Regions from separate parts of the Homo sapiens genome. Here regions 1 and 3 are each linked to region 2. Evidence: promoter capture Hi-C in human tissues and cell types (Jung and others, 2019). All regions are on one chromosome and are shown on one strand. Each heading gives the region's core, a stretch centred on a gene start or on the middle of the fragment in contact. The rest is flanking DNA. Distances are from core to core; before and after follow the strand shown.

Region 1 (2,745 bases), core at 184-2,683, 480 kb before region 2:
GCATAAGCTAGGTGTGGTGGCTCATGCCTGTAACCCCAGCACTTTGGGAGGCCAAGATGGGACGATTGCTTAAGGCCAGGAGTTTGAGATCTGCCTGAGCAACATAGTGAGACCCTGCCTCTACCAAAAAAGTAAAAATAAAAAAGCCAGATATGGTGGCACATGCCTGTAGTCCTAGCTACTCGGGAGGCTGAGGCAGAAGGATCACGTGAGCCCAGGAGTTTGAGGCTGTAGTGAGCTACAGTCGTGCCACTGTACTCCAGCCTGGACAACAGAGCAAGACCTTGTCTCCAATAAATACGTAAATAGTAAAAGCATAGGATAATCATAAAGGGTGCTGATAATTTTTCATATTTGACCTTTCCATTGCATTCTTTCCAGTTCCTTTTTCTTTTCTTCTTCATGTGTCTGGAGCAGCCCACATTGCCACAGAGAACTTGGCTGTTCTGAAACAATTCTGAGTGAAGGCAAAGTGCTTTTTGGATGGTCTTTCATGCTCAGCAATAGTGGCTCACAGAATAATGTTGATAGTAGGAGCCCAGAGAATTTAATTAGCCCAAGGTCACACAGTTAATAGCCCTACTGTAAAAGCTGGGCTTTGAACCCAGATCCAGCTCACTCTTTTTTTTTTTTGAGACAGGGTCTGGCTCTGTCACCCAGGCTAGCGTGCAGTGGTGCAATCATGGCTTGCTGCAGCCTCAACCTTCTGGGCTCAAGCAGTCCTCCCACCTCAGCCTCCCAAGTAGCTGGGACTACAGGTGTGCAACATCACACCCAGCTAATTGTATTATTATTTTTTTGGTTGAGATGGGGTTTTGCCATGTCCAGGCTGGTCTCAAACTCCTGGGCTCCAGTAATCTGCCCACCTTGGCCTCCCAAAGTGCTGAAATTATAGGCGTGACCCACCACACCTGGCCCCAGCGAACTCTTAACTACTTAGGCTTTGTGTAGATCTTAAGCCACCGGGAGGTGTTTGAGTCCTAGGTGTGCAACAATTAGGCTCCTCATATAAGGAGGGGTGGAAGATCACCAGGCAGCATTTCCACACCACTGTTCTTTGCTGTGGATTTGCATGAGAGGAGACATAGATTTCATGATATCTTGCATTGGCTTGAGGCTGCTATGTCAGGGTGGAAAGGGGATGGGGAGGATAATAAAACCTTAAAGTTGAAGGAGACGGCTGGGCGTGGTGGCTCACGCCTGTAATCCCAGCTACTCGGGAGGCTGAGGCAGGAGAATCATTTGAACCCGGGAGGTGGAGGTTGCAGTGAGTCAAAATCACGCCACTGCATACCAGCTTGGGCAACAGAGTGAGACTCCATCCTCCCCACCCCCACAAAAGAAAATTTAAGGAGACATTACAGGTGATCTTAACCAGACCTAGGGCCATTGAGTAACTTGCCTAAAGTTCATTTCTGTGTAGTGATAGAGCTGGGATCTACAAAAATTAGCCGGGTGTGGTGGCGTGCACCTGTAGTCCCAGCTACTCAGGAGGCTGAGGCAGGAGGATCAGTTGAGCCTGGAGGTCGAGGCTGCAGTTAGCTGTGATCAGGCCACTCTACTCCAGCCTGGGCAACAGTTAGACTCTGAGTGAAAAAGAAAAAAGTAGGGGGGTGCGAGGAGAGCTGGGGCCAAACCCAAGGCTCCTGGGTTTTCCATACCACTATTGACTGACACCAGCATGTCTCTCTGAAGGAACTCACTTTGGCACTCATATCTCACTATCTCCTGAATCCTCCTTCACCTCTTCCTTGCTAGAGGTACACCTTCTTTCGTACCGCTGCAGCAGAAAATGACAGTTCCCATAACCAAGACTATCCCAGGCAGCTCAGGGACTCTGTATTTAGAGGAGGGAGAAGGACCACAGGGGACTAGATATATAGATGGCCACAACTTGTGATGGTTCAACTTAGTGATTTTTCAACTTTATGGTGGTGCAATTGATACATGCAGCCAGTAGAAATCATTTGTTTTTCATTTTTAATACAGTATTAAGTAGATGACATGAGATATTCAATACTTTATTGTAAAATAATTTGTGTTAGAGGATTTTACCAAACCATAGGCTGATGTAAGTTCCGAGCAGTTTAAGGTAAGCTAGGCTAAGCTATGCTGTTCAGTAGATTAACTGTGTTAAATGCATTTTTGACTGACGATATTTTCAATTTATGATGGGTTTACCAGAACATGACCCCATCGTAAGCCGAGAAACTTCCGTACTGTGTTAAAAACTGTTTGAGGAACACTGGATTAAATGATGCTTCCACTGTTCTGCTCTCCCTGGGAAAGCGGAGGCAGAACGGTGAAGCAGAGTGAGGTCTTGTTTATTCCAGGCCCCCTGCCTCGGTGCACAGAAGATCCGAGAGAAAAGCTGACTGACAGCAGTAGGTCATGAGGATGCCACTTGTTTAGATTTCAAATGCATTCCACTCTATGTCTCACTTAAGACCAGTTGACAGCCATGTGTTCCGAGCCTGGGCTGCCTCTGGTGAATTTTCCTGAGACAGAAGTGTCATTGGATTCTTTCTTGTGCCAAGTGTAGGCACCACTGCCTCTTTTAGAAACTATGTGGACACTTTGAACTGTGCTCTTTTAAGCCAGTGCCGGAAGAATGGCATTCGCAGGGCCTGGTAAACTGGGGAGAAACTTTCTGATGTTTTTATGAAAGGCATGTTTTGCTCTGAAGTCAAAGAGTGTGTGTTCTGGCCAAAGTAGCAAGCATAGATCTGCTTTTTCCACACGCAC
Region 2 (2,700 bases), core at 33-2,532:
GACCCCTCCCAGCCTTCATCTTTTCAGATTCCATTCTTTGATTCTCACCCCCTGCCCCACCAACCCTACCATGTGGCAGAAGAGGCCGGCTCAGTCACCAGCACTCTCCCCCACTCCTGGAGTTTAATCTTTTTGCAGGGATCTCTTTTCTCCAAAAAGAGATCTGCACAGGGAGTGGCTCTCTGAAGCCAGTTGAGAACCTGCCCTGCTGGATTTACACAAACTGAAATCTCAAATGCCCACAGGGTCAGAGAGGTAAAGTAAATGAATTAAGAAGGGGGGCGTAATTCAGTGGAGAATGGCAGGGACTGTAGTGAACAGGAGAGCACACTTCTTATACAAATGGCAAGGGCAACTCACCTCTGCCACTGTGGGCATCCCAGCTCTTCCCATTTTCAGAAGAAGCCAGAAATCCAATTTCTTTACAGGTGAAATCTCCTGGTTTAAAAATGCTCCTTTCGAAATATTTTAAAATATAATGCTCTAAACACAAAAGTCTGCAGCCCCCTTTCCAGCAGCTTGTGGTCCTGGCCTGTGCCATGCTTTAGTGCCCTAACGATGAGCCCCAGCAATTCCCAGCGCCTCCTGCTTCTCCAAGTCTGGCCTCTTTTCCCCTCTGTACCGCCGCTTCTCCCCACTCTCCGCAGCTCGGGGTCACTTTCTTTACTGATCTCCCCTCTCTTCTGGGAGAGGCACTTGCTGAACATCTTTCCGCCCGGAGCCTCCCCAGGAGCTGCAGAGGGGCAGCTGGAGAGATGCTTTCTGACGTAGCATCTCCCACCTTTCTCCTTGGGGACCCTGAGGAAGGGGACAAGGGCTCGCTCTGCAGGTCCTCACTGTAACTGGAAAAACACGACCTCGCCCTCGGGAAGGCTTTCTGTGCGCCTCACCTCAGGATGAGGGTGGGTGTAGGGGACACCTCCCAGAAACCCCTAACCTCCCAGTCGGTTAAAGAAGAGGGGATAGGGTCAAGGGATGCGACAGAGCTGTGTGGTTTCCGGATGGGAAACCTCAGTCGTTTAGGCACCCCTCCGCTCGAGTCACTTCCGAAGCAGTCGATTCTTGGGGAGAAGCGCTGCGGAAAGGGGCGACTCCGATGCAGATGGCCCTGTCCCGGCGCCCCAGGTCGTCGCGCGCGCAGCTGCGGTAGTCACTGCGCCTCCCCGCCCCCACTCCTGGATGCCCCCCTTCCCTCTCCCGGCCAGACTCTGAGCAGGAGCTCCGCCCCCAGCGCGCCGCCCCAGCCCCGGCGCCTTAAAAGCCGGGCGCACCGCCCCGCCGCGCCCTGCCTGCCGCACCTCTCCTTTCTTCTGTAGCTCGCGTTGAAGCCGCACGTCCGGCCCCGATCCCGGCACCATGAGCTTCGGCTCGGAGCACTACCTGTGCTCCTCCTCCTCCTACCGCAAGGTGTTCGGGGATGGCTCTCGCCTGTCCGCCCGCCTCTCTGGGGCCGGCGGCGCGGGCGGCTTCCGCTCGCAGTCGCTGTCCCGCAGCAATGTGGCCTCCTCGGCCGCCTGCTCCTCGGCCTCGTCGCTCGGCCTCGGCCTGGCCTATCGCCGGCCGCCGGCGTCCGACGGGCTGGACCTGAGCCAGGCGGCGGCGCGCACCAACGAGTACAAGATCATCCGCACCAACGAGAAGGAGCAGCTGCAGGGCCTCAACGACCGCTTCGCCGTGTTCATCGAGAAGGTGCATCAGCTGGAGACGCAGAACCGCGCGTTGGAGGCCGAGCTGGCCGCGCTGCGACAGCGCCACGCTGAGCCGTCGCGCGTCGGCGAGCTCTTCCAGCGCGAGCTGCGCGACCTGCGCGCGCAGCTGGAGGAGGCCAGCTCGGCTCGCTCGCAGGCCCTGCTGGAGCGCGACGGGCTGGCGGAGGAGGTGCAGCGGCTGCGGGCGCGCTGCGAGGAGGAGAGCCGCGGACGCGAAGGCGCCGAGCGCGCCCTGAAGGCGCAGCAGCGCGACGTGGACGGCGCCACGCTGGCCCGCCTGGACCTGGAGAAGAAGGTGGAGTCGCTGCTGGACGAGCTGGCCTTCGTACGCCAGGTGCACGACGAGGAGGTAGCCGAGCTGCTGGCCACGCTGCAGGCGTCGTCGCAGGCCGCGGCCGAGGTGGACGTGACTGTGGCTAAACCAGACCTGACCTCGGCTCTGAGGGAGATCCGCGCCCAGTATGAGTCCCTGGCCGCTAAGAACCTGCAGTCCGCGGAAGAATGGTACAAGTCCAAGTTTGCCAACCTGAACGAGCAGGCGGCGCGCAGCACCGAGGCCATCCGGGCCAGCCGCGAGGAGATCCACGAGTATCGGCGCCAGCTGCAGGCGCGCACCATCGAGATCGAGGGCCTGCGCGGGGCCAACGAGTCCTTGGAGAGGCAGATCCTGGAGCTGGAGGAGCGGCACAGTGCCGAGGTAGCTGGCTACCAGGTAAGGGCCGGGGCTGGGCGTGGGGAGGGGTGCCCTGCCCTCTTCCGCGCGTACCCTCTTCCTCTGGTAAAACTGGGCCCCAGGACTTAAGGGGAGGGCAAAAGAGAGGAGAGAAGAGCCGCGGCTGGAGGCGCTGGTTAACAAAAAACCCTGGAGTCTTTAATGTTAATTTTAGGGAACGCCCCTCATTTATGTCCCTGCCCCAGCCCTTCAAACAAAGAAGCCCTTAAATTTATTTGAGGTTCGAAAACCCAACTCTGCCTGTCTGTCAGCAAGCGG
Region 3 (2,700 bases), core at 3-2,502, 510 kb before region 2:
TCTTCATTCATGTGACGATCTTTTCTTGAGGGCCTGCTTTGTGCAAGGCATCGTGCTTGGTCCTGTGAGGGATATGGAAGTGAACGTTTCACATCTTACCCCTAAGTTGCTTACTTTAGAGGAGAAGGTAGGGCTGAGAAGAAATATCTAAAACATAAAGTGTGAAATGGCTTTGTTGAGTTTATGAGTTGCATGTAAGAAGTGAGTGGATTTTCCTATAAAAGCACAACCAAGATGATTGCTTTCTGGACAGTGAGAATGCTTAGAGCACCCAGAACTGCTTCTAAGGACTCAGAGAGAGTTGAGATGTCTGTCATAAAATGACCTTGCTGTTAGCCTTTTTCTTGGGTCAGCCACCATTGTACCCACATTCCCACTTAATATAGACCATGTCTCTCTTTATCTCACCCAAAGTTTAAATAACAGTGAAAGATGAAATCAGATTGGTGGAGACCTGGAAGCTTAATTTTCCTAATGGTTCTCTTTCCAAATTACATCTGGCCGAGGCAGGAGGATCACTTGAACCTAGGAGTTCGAGACCAGCCTTGGCAACATAGGAAGACCCTGCCTCTATAAAGATTAAAAAAAATTAGCCAGGGCCAGGTGCAGTGGCTCACATCTGTAATCCCAGCACTTTGGGAGGCCGAGGCAGGCGGATCACCTCAGGTCGGGAGTTTGAGACCAGCCTGACCAACATGGAAAAACCCCATCTCTACTAAAAATACAAAAATTAGCTGGGCATGGTGCGCATGCCTGTAATCTCAGCTACTCAGGAAGCTGAGGTAGGAGAATTTCTTGAACCCGGGAGGCGGAGGTTGCAGTTAGCTGAGATCGCACCATTGCACTCCAGCCTGGGCAACAAGAGCGAAACTCTGTCTCAAAAAAAAAAAAAAAAAAAAAGGAAAAAAAATAAGTTGGGCATTGTAGTAAACGCCTGTAGTCTCAGCTACTTGGGAGGCTGAGGTGGGAGGATTGCTTGTGCCTGCGAGGTTGGAGGCTACAGTGAGCCATGATCGCACCACTGCAGTCCAGCTTGGGTGACAGAGCAAGATCCTGTCTCAAAAACAAAAAGCCGGCCTGGCCAACATGGTGAAACCATGTCTCTATTGAAAATACAAAAATTAGCTGGGCATGGTGGCACGAGCCTGTAGTCCTAGCTACTTGGGAGGCTGAGCAGGAGAATTGCTTGAACTCAGGAGGCGGAGGTTGCAGTGAGCCGAGATTGCGCCTCTGCACTCCAGCCTGAGCGACAGAGCGAGACTCTGTCTCAAAAAAAAAAAAAGCAAAAAACAAATTTCATCTGAGTGTGTTTCATGTAGTTGGTGTGATCTACATCCCTCCTTTTGTTCTTATTCCGATCTTTGGTTTGGAGAGCAATTGTGAGGAGGCATGAAATGTATCTGGAGATAGCTATGAGCTGCAGCCTGCTGATTTTCATGTAATTCTTGGCTACTTGCCAGTATGGTTGGGGTTAAACTGTTTCCAGGGTAGGAAAAACACGAACCTAGCATTTTGATATGAAAACAAACAAGGCTACTTTGTACTTGATGAAGCTCAAGTTGCAGATCCAGTGAGAGCCCATTAACTATTGGTGAAGGCCCACTGACAGTGTTGAGTTTCAGAGACCCCTGCACATTCTGGAGATGGCAGCGAATTGTTGTGCAGCCTACGAAAGTAATAAATATTTCTGCAGTGATTGTCAACAACAAAATGATTTTCTTGTTTGGGGGGTGGGGAGGCAAGAGGCAGAAACCTTAGGAAGCTGTTGCAAACCAGTTTCAGCTTCTGCTACTTTTATTTCTTTCCATTTAAAGCTGGGTGCAGTGGCACATGCCTGTAGTCCCAGTTACTCAGGAGCCTGAGGTGGGAGGCTCACTTGAACCCAGGATTTTGAGGCTGCAGTGTATTATGATGGCCCCTGTAAGTAGCCACTGCACCCCAGCCAGGGCAACATAATGAGACCCTGTCTCTCAAAAAAAATAAAAGACTGAGGCTGCACCAATGACATGGGGTGGAGTCAGGAACCTAGGACTCTTTCTGGCCCACTTTGGAGACCGAGAGCAGGATTCTGTGAGGTTGAGGTCAATGACTGGGAAAGCCCCAAAGTTCTCATCTGTATCTTCCTTCCACCTCCCCCAACCTCTGCAATAAAACAAAATCAACTCCAAGATTGACCATATTTTAGTAGTAAATATCAAACAAGCAAAATGAGGGCCTAAAATACTCCACTAAAATAGAAATTCCTATATTTGATATTCATGCTGCTACTGTAATCATCAGAAAGAAAAACTGTGCTGGTCAAAGATACTCACTCATTAGATGTGTACATGTGTAGGGCCTTGACATTCTACCCCCAACTAATCTTTGCGTCATCTTTTTCTGCCTTTGGACGTATGCCCCATGCGTCCTTGTTTCCATACTTTTATTCATGCTCTGCTCTGCGTAGTGTGCTCATTTTATCCACTGAAACCCTACGTATTATTTCAGTATCCATCTCTTTGGGGTTTTTTAGTTTGTTTGCTTTTTGAGACGAATTCTTGCTCTGTTGCCCAGGCTGACATGCATTGGCATGATCTCGGCTCACTGCAACCTCCGCCTCCTGGGTTCAAGCGATTCGTTCTCCTGCCTCAGCCTCCCAAGTAGCTGAGTTTACAGGCATGTGCCACCATGCCCGGCTAATTTTTATATTTTTAGTAGAGG

What was found. The method cuts DNA at HindIII sites, captures the fragments that hold promoters and counts their contacts. A contact is called where the count stands out against the background at its distance.
Region 1: a fragment that was not itself captured here is called in contact with the fragment with the promoter of INA in region 2 in 2 of the 25 tissues and cell types used here (bladder and spleen).
Region 3: a fragment that was not itself captured here is called in contact with the fragment with the promoter of INA in region 2 in 3 of the 25 tissues and cell types used here (IMR-90 fibroblasts, lymphoblastoid cells and spleen).

What each region holds. Positions count from the first base shown.
Region 1 is chr10:102,793,154-102,795,898 of GRCh38, forward strand. All of the region lies in intron 1 of WBP1L (WW domain binding protein 1 like), which reads left to right. Among named protein-coding and RNA genes, the nearest start is that of CYP17A1-AS1, 38 kb to the right of the region's middle. The HindIII fragment of the contact is 6,115 bases long and covers 1-2,745 here.
Region 2 is chr10:103,275,856-103,278,555 of GRCh38, forward strand. It overlaps INA (internexin neuronal intermediate filament protein alpha), which reads left to right and starts at 1,283. Exons shown (of 3, transcript NM_032727.4): 1 at 1,283-2,421. The coding sequence starts at 1,357. RefSeq lists an enhancer at 1,698-2,302. The HindIII fragment of the contact is 4,832 bases long and covers 1-2,700 here.
Region 3 is chr10:102,765,563-102,768,262 of GRCh38, forward strand. The region is part of intron 1 of WBP1L (WW domain binding protein 1 like); the gene reads left to right. Among named protein-coding and RNA genes, the nearest start is that of WBP1L, 23 kb to the left of the region's middle. The HindIII fragment of the contact is 6,005 bases long and covers 1-2,700 here.